Regions from separate parts of the Homo sapiens genome. Here all the other regions are linked to region 2. Evidence: promoter capture Hi-C in 16 types of primary human blood cells and fetal thymus (Javierre and others, 2016). All regions are on one chromosome and are shown on one strand. The core of a region is centred on a gene start or on the middle of the fragment in contact, and the rest is flanking DNA. Distances in the headings are between cores, read along the strand shown. Region 1 overlaps LOC105375187 (a long non-coding RNA gene). Region 2 holds the start of SPMIP4 (sperm microtubule inner protein 4). Region 3 has its middle 6.1 kb from the start of MALSU1.

Region 1 (2,842 bases), core at 90-2,589, 1.6 Mb after region 2:
CCAGCCGCCCTGCACCTACCCTGGGTCAGAACGACGCAGCTGCGCGGCAACCAGAGAGGGCGGCGGGGTCTTCTGTGTTGGAAGATGAGCCCGCCAGAGGCATACCCTCGGCCTTAACTCGCTGCAGGCGCTGGAAGAAGGGCTCTGGCGTCTTGTTCCCGACCCTCCGGTGAGGAACCAACCTCCTAATACTATTGACCTGAGGCTGGGAAAGCTTAGTGATGATTAAGTGTGCTACAGATGAGACTACCCATTATTGAAGCCAAAGGTCCTTAGCCAGTGGAGTGAGGCAAGAAAAATAAAAGGATTGAAGATTAAATAGGAAGAAACAAAATTATTTTTTCATAGATTATGTAATTATGTACGTGGAGGCCGGGCGCCGTTGGCTCATGCCTGTAATCCCAGCAGTTTGTGAGGCCAAGACGGGAGGATCACCTGAGGTCGGGAATTCGAGACCAGCCTGGCCAACATGGTGAAACCCCGTCTCTACTACAGATACGAACTTAGCAGGGCGAGGTGGCGGACGCCTGTAATTCCAGCCTCTCGGGGAGCTGAGGCGGGAGAATTGCTTGAACCCAGGAGGCGGAGGTTGCAGTGAGCTGATATCGCGCCACTGCACTCCAGCCTGGGCAACAAGAGCAGAACTCCGTCTCAAAAAAAAAAAAAAATTGTTTGTGGCACTTCAAAACAATCTGCAGATAAACTGTTAACAATAAAAGTTTTTAACAAGGTTAATAGATACAAAAATCATATTTTAAAAAATCAATATTTATTTATATATGCTAGTAAAAAAGATAATTTTTTTAAAGATACCATTTCCAACAGCTCCAAACAAATATCAAGTACCTAGGAATAAATCGATCAAAGAAATGCAAAACCTGCCTGAAGAAAACATTGGAAGACACTGAAGAAGACCTAAATAAAGATGTAACATGTTCATAAATTGGAAGAGTCAATACTGAAAAATGCCAAGTCTCTCCAAACCTACCTACAGAGCCAGTGCAATTCCCAACAAAATCTCAATAAATTTCTGTGTATGTGTGAGAAACTTGACAAGCTAATTCAAAATGTTATGGAAGAGCAAAGACAAGCATTCATGAGGAAGAGGAGGAAGAAAAAAAAAGAAGAGGAGAAGGAGTGGGAGGAGGAAAACTTGTGCTACCGGATAACAAGCTTTATTATAGACTAGGCACGGTGGCCCATGCCTATGATCTCAGCACTTCGGGAGGCTGAGGCAAGTGGATTGCTTGAGCCTGGAGTTCAAGACCAGCCTGGGCAACATGGCAAAACCCCATCTGTACCCCCCAAAAAAATACCAAAGTCAGCCAGTTGTGGTGGCATGCACCTATAGTCCCTGCTACTCAAGAGGCTGGGGGCAGGAGGATCACTTTGAGCCCAGGAGGTGGAGTCTGCAGTGAGCCATAATTGTGCCACTGCACTCCAGCCTGGGCGACAGCAAGCCTCTTCCTCAAAAACAAAACAAAACAAAACAAAAACAAGCTTTATTTTAAAGCTGTCAACCTAAATAATAGGACCTCTAAAAGAAAAAGACACTCACTTAAGAATAGGGCATTGCAATGGGAATATACATGCCACAGTAAACTCTGTGTGTATTCAGGGAGGTAAAGGAAGACAAAGAAAAAATGAGGAGGATTAAATAATTGCTTTGAAATTATTATGCTTGGCTACAAGGATCAATAATAAGGGTGACTCCAGTTCTAGGTTCAACAGGCAGTTGCTGGGCAGATGTCCACACAGAAGTACTTGTTGTGTAAGGTTGCAGTGGTCTTTATGTAAGGTTGTGGTTTTTGCAGAGTCTTTTGCAATAGTTTAGTTATCAGGTATACACATGTGAAAGCCTTCCCTTCTTAGCCTTCCCCAGCTCTGTCAGGGTGTTTTGTTTTTAACACAAGTGACTCCATTTTGATTCTGACAATTTTCACATTTCCCTTTTTTGATCAAGAGCTTTCTCAGAATGCATCACTGATCAGTCATTTTGTAGTTACATTCTGATGTCCCTGGAGGCCAGGTTGAACCTGTCCTGGTTGCTGGTTTCTTCCCTCATTGTGGGGAGTGATTGGTGATGAGTCAGTGTCAAAAACCATTAAGCCATATTTGGGCAATAAGGGAGGTTTGAAGAAAATGGCTCTCAGGCTAAGTCTACCTGGAGTTTATTATTGAGGTCTATAGTCTTTGGCTGTCATCTCAAAGTGCTGGCCCAGCATTATTTTGTTAAGACCTATACTTCTGCAAAAATTTAACAAGTAACAGATACAAAGTTTAAAAAAGGAAAAATATAAAGTAAAATGATAATCTCAGTTTGCTTAATAGTTTTGAGCCATGAACCTAGGCTTAACCAGCTGAATAAATGAAATGACCATGAAGGATTAAGTGAGACCTGTTGTAACGTTTCATAAACCCATCAGTTTTTTAAGTGTGCATGAGAATGGGCCATCAAATATAGCTGGTTGGAGTCCCAGAAAACTTGGCATGCCTTAATGTTTGAAAATCCCAGGCAGAGTACAGTGGCTTACATTTATAATCTTGACACTTTGGGAGGCTAAGGCAGGAGGATCTCTTGAGGCCAGGAGTTTGAGACAGCCTGAGCAACATAGTGAAACACCGTCTCTTCAAAACAAAACAAAACAAAAAAAGTAGCTGGGCATGGTGGCGTGTACCTGTAGTCCTAGCTACTTGAGCCTAGGGGTTCAAGGCTGCAATGATCTATGATTGCATCACTGAACTCCAGCCAGGGAGACAGAGTGAGACTCTGTTTCTTAAAAAAAAAAAGAAAGAAAGAAAAATTAAGAAAACCCCATTACATTACTTATCAATCTCTCAA
Region 2 (2,976 bases), core at 261-2,760:
CCAACAAAGAAATAGGAAGTCCAGCTCAAATCTGTCTCCCTGTGCTGGCTTTAGGACAATTATTTTATTAGAAATGGTTTTGAGTGTGGATTCTGGGATTAGCAGGTGCTTGGTGGAAGGAAAGAGGAAGTCTGGAAAGTCCTTGCGCATGTGCTCTTATTTCTTCATGCTACCTAAGGGTTCCACGTGCAAATTCAGTGAGGAGTTAGTATGAAACATGGCAGTAGAAATTCAGCTGTAAGGTCAGCAAGCTGGATCTGTGCAGACTCTAGTTGGCCTTATATGTTCCAGTGGATTTCAGCCAGTTTTATTAACCTACAAGCCCAGGCATTTCAGCATTTCAGCAATTTGTTTCTTTTATCTGCCATCCTGTAAACTCAAGAATTTCTATGACTGTTTTCTTTAACTCTTTGGCACACAGTTTCAACGCCCTTCTTCTCAGAGGTGGTCATTCTCACCCTCACCTTCTGGTTCCTGCAGGCTCATTTCTAGCCTCCCACACTGTATTAGTCTTTTCTCACAATGCTGTAAAGAACTGCCCAAGACTGGGTAATTTATAAACGAAGGAGGTTTAGTTGACTCACAATCTCACATGGCTGCGGAGGCCTCAGGAAACTTACAATCATGGCAGAAGGCCACGGAGAAGCAGTTACCTTCTCCACAAGGGGGCAGGAAGGAAAAGTGCTGGGAGAAGGGAGAAGAGCCTCTTATAAAACCATCAGATCTCGTGAGAATTCACTCGCTATTACGAGAACAGCATGGGGGAAACTGCCCCCATGATCCAATTACTTCCACCTGGTCTCTCCTTTGACAAGCGGGGATTATGGGTATTACAATTCAAGATGAGATTTGAGTGGGGACACAAAGCCTAACCATATCACACATATACACACAACCTAACCTCCTCACATCCCATTCCTTGATGGGGTGGCAGGTGGCGAGGGGGGGGTGACATCCCTTATTGTCAGCCATCACAGGAACTCATGACCCTGTAGGTGCAGATTCATGGCTCACATTTGTATCTTTTGGGGAAAACTGAGGTAATCAAGGTGGGGCTAGGCCCTGGGGACGAGGCAAGTAAAGGACTTTGCCATGTCCGCACCCACCAGGGAAGGAGCAGAGACTCTGTTAGGGCGCCATGCCAGGGGCTGCAGTTTCAGAATCCTGCAGACTCCACCCTCTATCTGGCCACACTGTCCCCAATTTTTGCGAGGTGACCTGGGGAGGGAGGACAGGTCGGATGCTCCGACCTCACCAGGGACTCCACTGGACCGGAGCTCTTCCTCCTCCGCCCAGTCCACATGAGAGAGCTCCCTGGCCGGCCCTGAGACAGCTCCAGACCTGGTAGCCCTGGAAAAAGAAACTGGTATCGCCATCGCCGCCGCCGCTAGAGGGCGCCTGGGGGCGGGGCGCGGGTGGGGCAAGGCGGGGTCCGACTGGAGGCAGGGCGGTGAGCCGAGAGGGGCGGGGCAAGGGACCGGGAGGCGGGGCCAGGGGTCGCAAGGCGGAAGAGCCCCTCTCGCCTCCGACCCGGCGCCTCGCACTCCGTTCACTCTCGGTTCCTCTTCGCATTCTTGCCAGTCCCGTAGCGCTGGGCTGGTTTCCTCCGAGGTCTCTAAGAGCCTCCTACTGCGCCCCGCTCGCCGCCCGGAAGCCCCCAGCCCCTCAAGGACGCATCACCTAATGCCGCGGTCACGGCCACCGTCACAAGCGCCCCCAGCCCCACCCCACCCCGGCCTGCCCGCCGTCCTTCTCCCGCCCCCGCCCCTGCCTGCCAGCTCCACCGGGCCGTAGGTGCGGACGACCTCAAAATTCCTCGGCCCGCGAAGGCCGCCAGCTGCGGGGAGGGGAGGGGAGGCGCGGTCCCGCAGCGCCCCCAGGCTCATGTCCCAGGTATGTCCAGACCCCCGAGGCACCGCTTGCAGGGCAGTGACAGCCCGTGAGGCTCGGCCTCGACCCCTGGCACCCTTGGTCCCAGCTACGCCGGCTCCTGGCCTTCCCCCAAGTCCGAGAGAGAGGTGGGATTCTCCCCGACGCAGTTGGAAACCGGGAATCCCCTTTAGGGTCCCGTTCGTGCTGCACTACTGACTCCACCATCTGCAAAGGGATTCTTGTCCAGAATCCCCGAAGGCTTTAGGACAGCGCTTATTTTGTTGAATGAAGAGTCTCTAATTTTCGGAAAGACCACAGGCTAAAAGTCAAGTGAGTTTTCTTGAATAGTTATAGTTAAATTTAAGGCAGGAATTGAATGTCAGTTGATGGCCACAAAGTAGCGGACTGGTACGAACCTACTGGATGATCATTCTGGTGACTACTTGGAGGCACCGTCCACTTTGTGGATTTGTTTCAGTTGAAATTTATTTCCATAGAACTTATTTAGGTCTCTATTTATTACTGATTTGACGGCTTTCAGTGCAGAGGGAAGCCTGTGACGTCTGTGCAGCGTCAGGTTGAACAATTTAGCAGTGTAAAATGTGTTTTCTGCCTGCCTTGACTCGACAAGCCAAATGTGCCCTCCTTTTCTTTTCCAGGTTGTGCCTTTTTAGCCAAGAAGCATGGAAGTCATTCACGGCAGGCCCTACTGTTGCAGGGAGCTTGAAGGAGCTGACATACTGTCCAACACCTTTTACTCTAATGAATTGCACAACCCCCTCCAGACGGTTACTCGCCCAACTGCCTCAGAGGACAGGTAAAACAAAAACTAGAAAAAGCAAACAAGAAAAAGCAGTTTTAATGTATTCGTGTATTTTATTATGTGAGGAAAAACATTTATTGTTCTGGGGCTCTTCTGTTTCTTGTTTGTTTGTTTGTTTGTTTGTTTTTGAGACGGTGTCTCGCTCTGTCGCCCAGGCTGGAGTGTAGTGGTGCGATCTCGGCTCACTGGGACCTCTGCCTCCCAGGTTCAGGTGATTCTCCTGCCTCACCCTCCAGAGTAGCTGGGATTACAGGCATGCACCACCATGCCCAGCTAATATT
Region 3 (2,976 bases), core at 372-2,871, 1.9 Mb after region 2:
ATATGCCACCATGCCTGGCTAATTTTTAACTTTTTGTAGAGACACAGCCTTGCTACGTTGCCCAGGTTGGTCTCAAACTCCTGTCCTCAAGGAATCCTCCTGCCTTGGCCTCCCAAAGCACTGGGATTACAGGCACCATGCCGAGCTCAATAACAGACATTTAAAGAGCCATACATTTTACGACAAAAGTTCATTATAACTAAAATGTTGGAATCACTGCTCACCCTGCAGCCTCAGCTTACCCTTCCCATCATCATAGGACAGCTCATTCCACCACCAGGCAGCTGTAGCTGTTGGTGAATATTCCCACCTCATGTAAACTTAATCCTTTTTCCTGGATTTCCACTGCCTTTGTACTGGTTCTGCCCTCCAGAGACCTTGCAGAAGGAAGGGCCAGGATTAAAATGACCTCTCTTATAATGTTATAAATACTATGGATTTGTATATTTATATTTTTAAAATTATTTTGTCCCCCACTTTGTAAATATCCTCATTGGAAGGAAGACAAAATCCTTTTCAAGAGAAGACAAACAGGGACTTTGTATTTTATAAACCTAGGAGTAAGGTACTAGCTCTCTGCACCCCAAACTCCCCTGGGGCTGTGGGGTTCGTATTGTCTGTCCCACTCAGATGTTCTGTGTGGGTTTGCCAGGCATGTCTTCCGGGCTTGTAAGGGCAGGGAGAGCAGCCTGGGGTGGGCACCGAGGCCTGCGATGAGATGAGCTGTTGGCTTCTCAGGGCACCGAGCCTGTGGTTTGCAAGCGTCCCAGAGCACTGCTTGCAGCCTCTCCCATAGGAGGTTCCCATGTGAGGAGGCCGCTCCTCCACCATTTGCCTAGTCTATTTGTGGAACCAAAGTGCAGGCTGTGACTCCCATCCCTTGCAGCATTGTTTCCTCAGCTTTCACAGCCGTTGTTTGTTCTGAAGCTGTGCCTCTGAACACTCACATTGGCCCCTTGGATTACTGGGCCCTGTCACAGAGCCAGACTGTTTTTCCCACAGCCTCAGAAATTGGTATTGGGGTCCCCTCTTGTCACCCCGATGTTGGTAGGTGGGCTTTGCAGGTTGTGGGTCACTCTGCGTAGACTTGTGATTCACCCTCCCAAGGAGCCTCACCAAGGTTCAAGTGAACATTCTGTGCCAGGCGCTGGACTAAGGCCAGAGAGAGGAAAGATGAATAAAACATTGTCTCAGCTGGGCGTGGTGGCTCACGCCTATAATCCCAGCACCTTCAGAGGCCGAGGTGGGTGGATCACTTGAGGTCAGGAGTTCGAGACCAGCCTGGCCAATACTAAAAATACAAAAAATTAGCCAGGCATGGTGGCAGGTGCCTGTGATCCCAGCTACTCAAGAGGTTGAGGCAGGAGAAACACTTGAACCCAGGAGGCGGAGGTTGCAGTGAGGTGAGATCACACCATTGCATTCCAGCCTGGGCAACAAGAGCAAAACTCCGTCTCAAAATAAACAAATAAATAAATAAATAAAAAACAAAACATAGTATCTGTACCCAGGGAGCTCCCAGAGAGTAGGAGAGATGATGATTAAATGTCATCAATACCGTGTAATTGTGTTTGAAAGAGGAGAGCCCACCTGCTGTGGTACACAGCAGCAATTCTCCCCCAGAGCTGGAAAAGTCTCTGCAGGGAGGTGCTATTTGAACAGACCTGGGTCTTGAGGCAGAGGTAAGGAGAGTGGACTACAGGGCCCCAAATTAGCCAACTTCAGGGGGCCCCTTTCACAATGGACTTGGGGGGAATGGAAACCCCTAAAGGGATGCAACTTGGAGGTGCTGTGAGGTGATGTTACAGGCCAGGAGAATACCACAGTGACGGTATCAACCCCTGGAGAAGCCCATGGGTTTTTACTGCCATATCTACCACAGCCTGTGAAGTGTTTTGTCCCCAGAGCTGAACTGTGATATTAAGTATTGATTCACAGGTGCGACACGGCCTCACTCCCCACTATGTCATAAGACCAGACCTTGGGTTGTTTTCTTTCTGCCAAAACCTGATTTCTAAAGGGCCTCCGATTTCTTTTGATCAGCTCTGCTGACAATCCAGTAAAACTTCTGCTTTTCATTTTCTTATCCCAGTTTTATGAGGTTCCTCCATTTTGGAATTATTGTGAGATTTGAGGCATTGTGATTAACGGGTGAGGGGAACCTCTGGCTGCTGAACTCTAGAGGGCTGGGCAAAAGAAACAAAGCCTGCCTCCTCTGCCAGTGCGTTTTGGGGAGCTTGTGGTTTGGGGGCAAGTCCCTTGAAGGAACACTTCCACCACAGTAGGGAGCCCCAAGTTCTAGGAAGGCAGGTCAGAGTGATTAATTCCACCTAGGGGGGTGAGGGAACACCTCACAGAGCAGGTCAAGCTGGAACTTTGGCCTTGGACTTTACTACTCCAAACTTTTTGGTCACACTTCAGGAAAGCATCTGACAATAGACATTCATTCCCAAACAGTTGTGGCCAATCAATTCTCCTATCTGCCTGGTGGTTTCACAAATCCAAACTGCAAAGAAATTCTGAGAAGTGTAGCTAATGAGTTCAGGAACACTACAGGCTGATCCATATTCAGCCTTATTAAAATATCAAGAGGCTGCCTTAGCTTCCTGGGAAAAGGTCCAAGCCTGAGTCCTAGTGAGGTGTGAGTGGCTTCCAAGGACACGCCTTTCTTTCCCTTTCTTTCCTTTTTCTTTCTTTCCTGTTCCTTTTTTTCTTTCCTTTTCCTTTTTTTCTTTCCTTTTCCTTTCTTTCCTTTCAAGAAAGAGTCCTGCTCTGTCGCCCAGGCTGGAATGCCATGGCATGATCTCGGCTCACTGCAACCTCCGCCTCCCAGGTTCAAGTGATTCTCCTGCCTCCGCCTCCCGAGAGGGTGGGATTGCAGGCACCTGCCACCATGCCTGGCTAATTTTTGTATTTTTAGTAGAAACGGGGTTTCACCATCTTGGCCAGGCTGGTCTCAAAATCCTGACCGCATGA

Evidence for each region. The method cuts DNA at HindIII sites, captures the fragments that hold promoters and counts their contacts. A CHiCAGO score of 5 or more calls a contact.
Region 1: a fragment that was not itself captured here is called in contact with the fragment with the promoter of SPMIP4 in region 2 in 2 of 17 cell types (monocytes and total CD8 T cells); the score reaches 7.0 in monocytes.
Region 3: a fragment that was not itself captured here is called in contact with the fragment with the promoter of SPMIP4 in region 2 in 1 of 17 cell types (neutrophils); the score reaches 6.3 in neutrophils.

Annotation. Positions count from the first base shown.
Region 1 is chr7:23,594,444-23,597,285 of GRCh38, reverse strand. It overlaps LOC105375187 (a long non-coding RNA gene), which reads left to right. Exons shown (of 2, transcript XR_927098.2): 1 at 1-169. Among named protein-coding and RNA genes, the nearest start is that of CCDC126, 1.5 kb to the left of the region's middle. The HindIII fragment of the contact is 327 bases long and covers 1,176-1,502 here.
Region 2 is chr7:25,178,888-25,181,863 of GRCh38, reverse strand. It overlaps SPMIP4 (sperm microtubule inner protein 4), which reads left to right and starts at 1,510. Exons shown (of 10, transcript NM_138811.4): 1 at 1,510-2,202; 2 at 2,532-2,689. The coding sequence starts at 2,556. All of the region lies in intron 1 of LOC124901603 (a long non-coding RNA gene), which reads right to left. RefSeq lists silencers at 1,275-1,664, 1,725-2,004. The HindIII fragment of the contact is 8,567 bases long and covers 1-2,976 here.
Region 3 is chr7:23,291,784-23,294,759 of GRCh38, reverse strand. No RefSeq gene overlaps it. Among named protein-coding and RNA genes, the nearest start is that of MALSU1, 6.1 kb to the left of the region's middle. The HindIII fragment of the contact is 4,012 bases long and covers 1-2,976 here.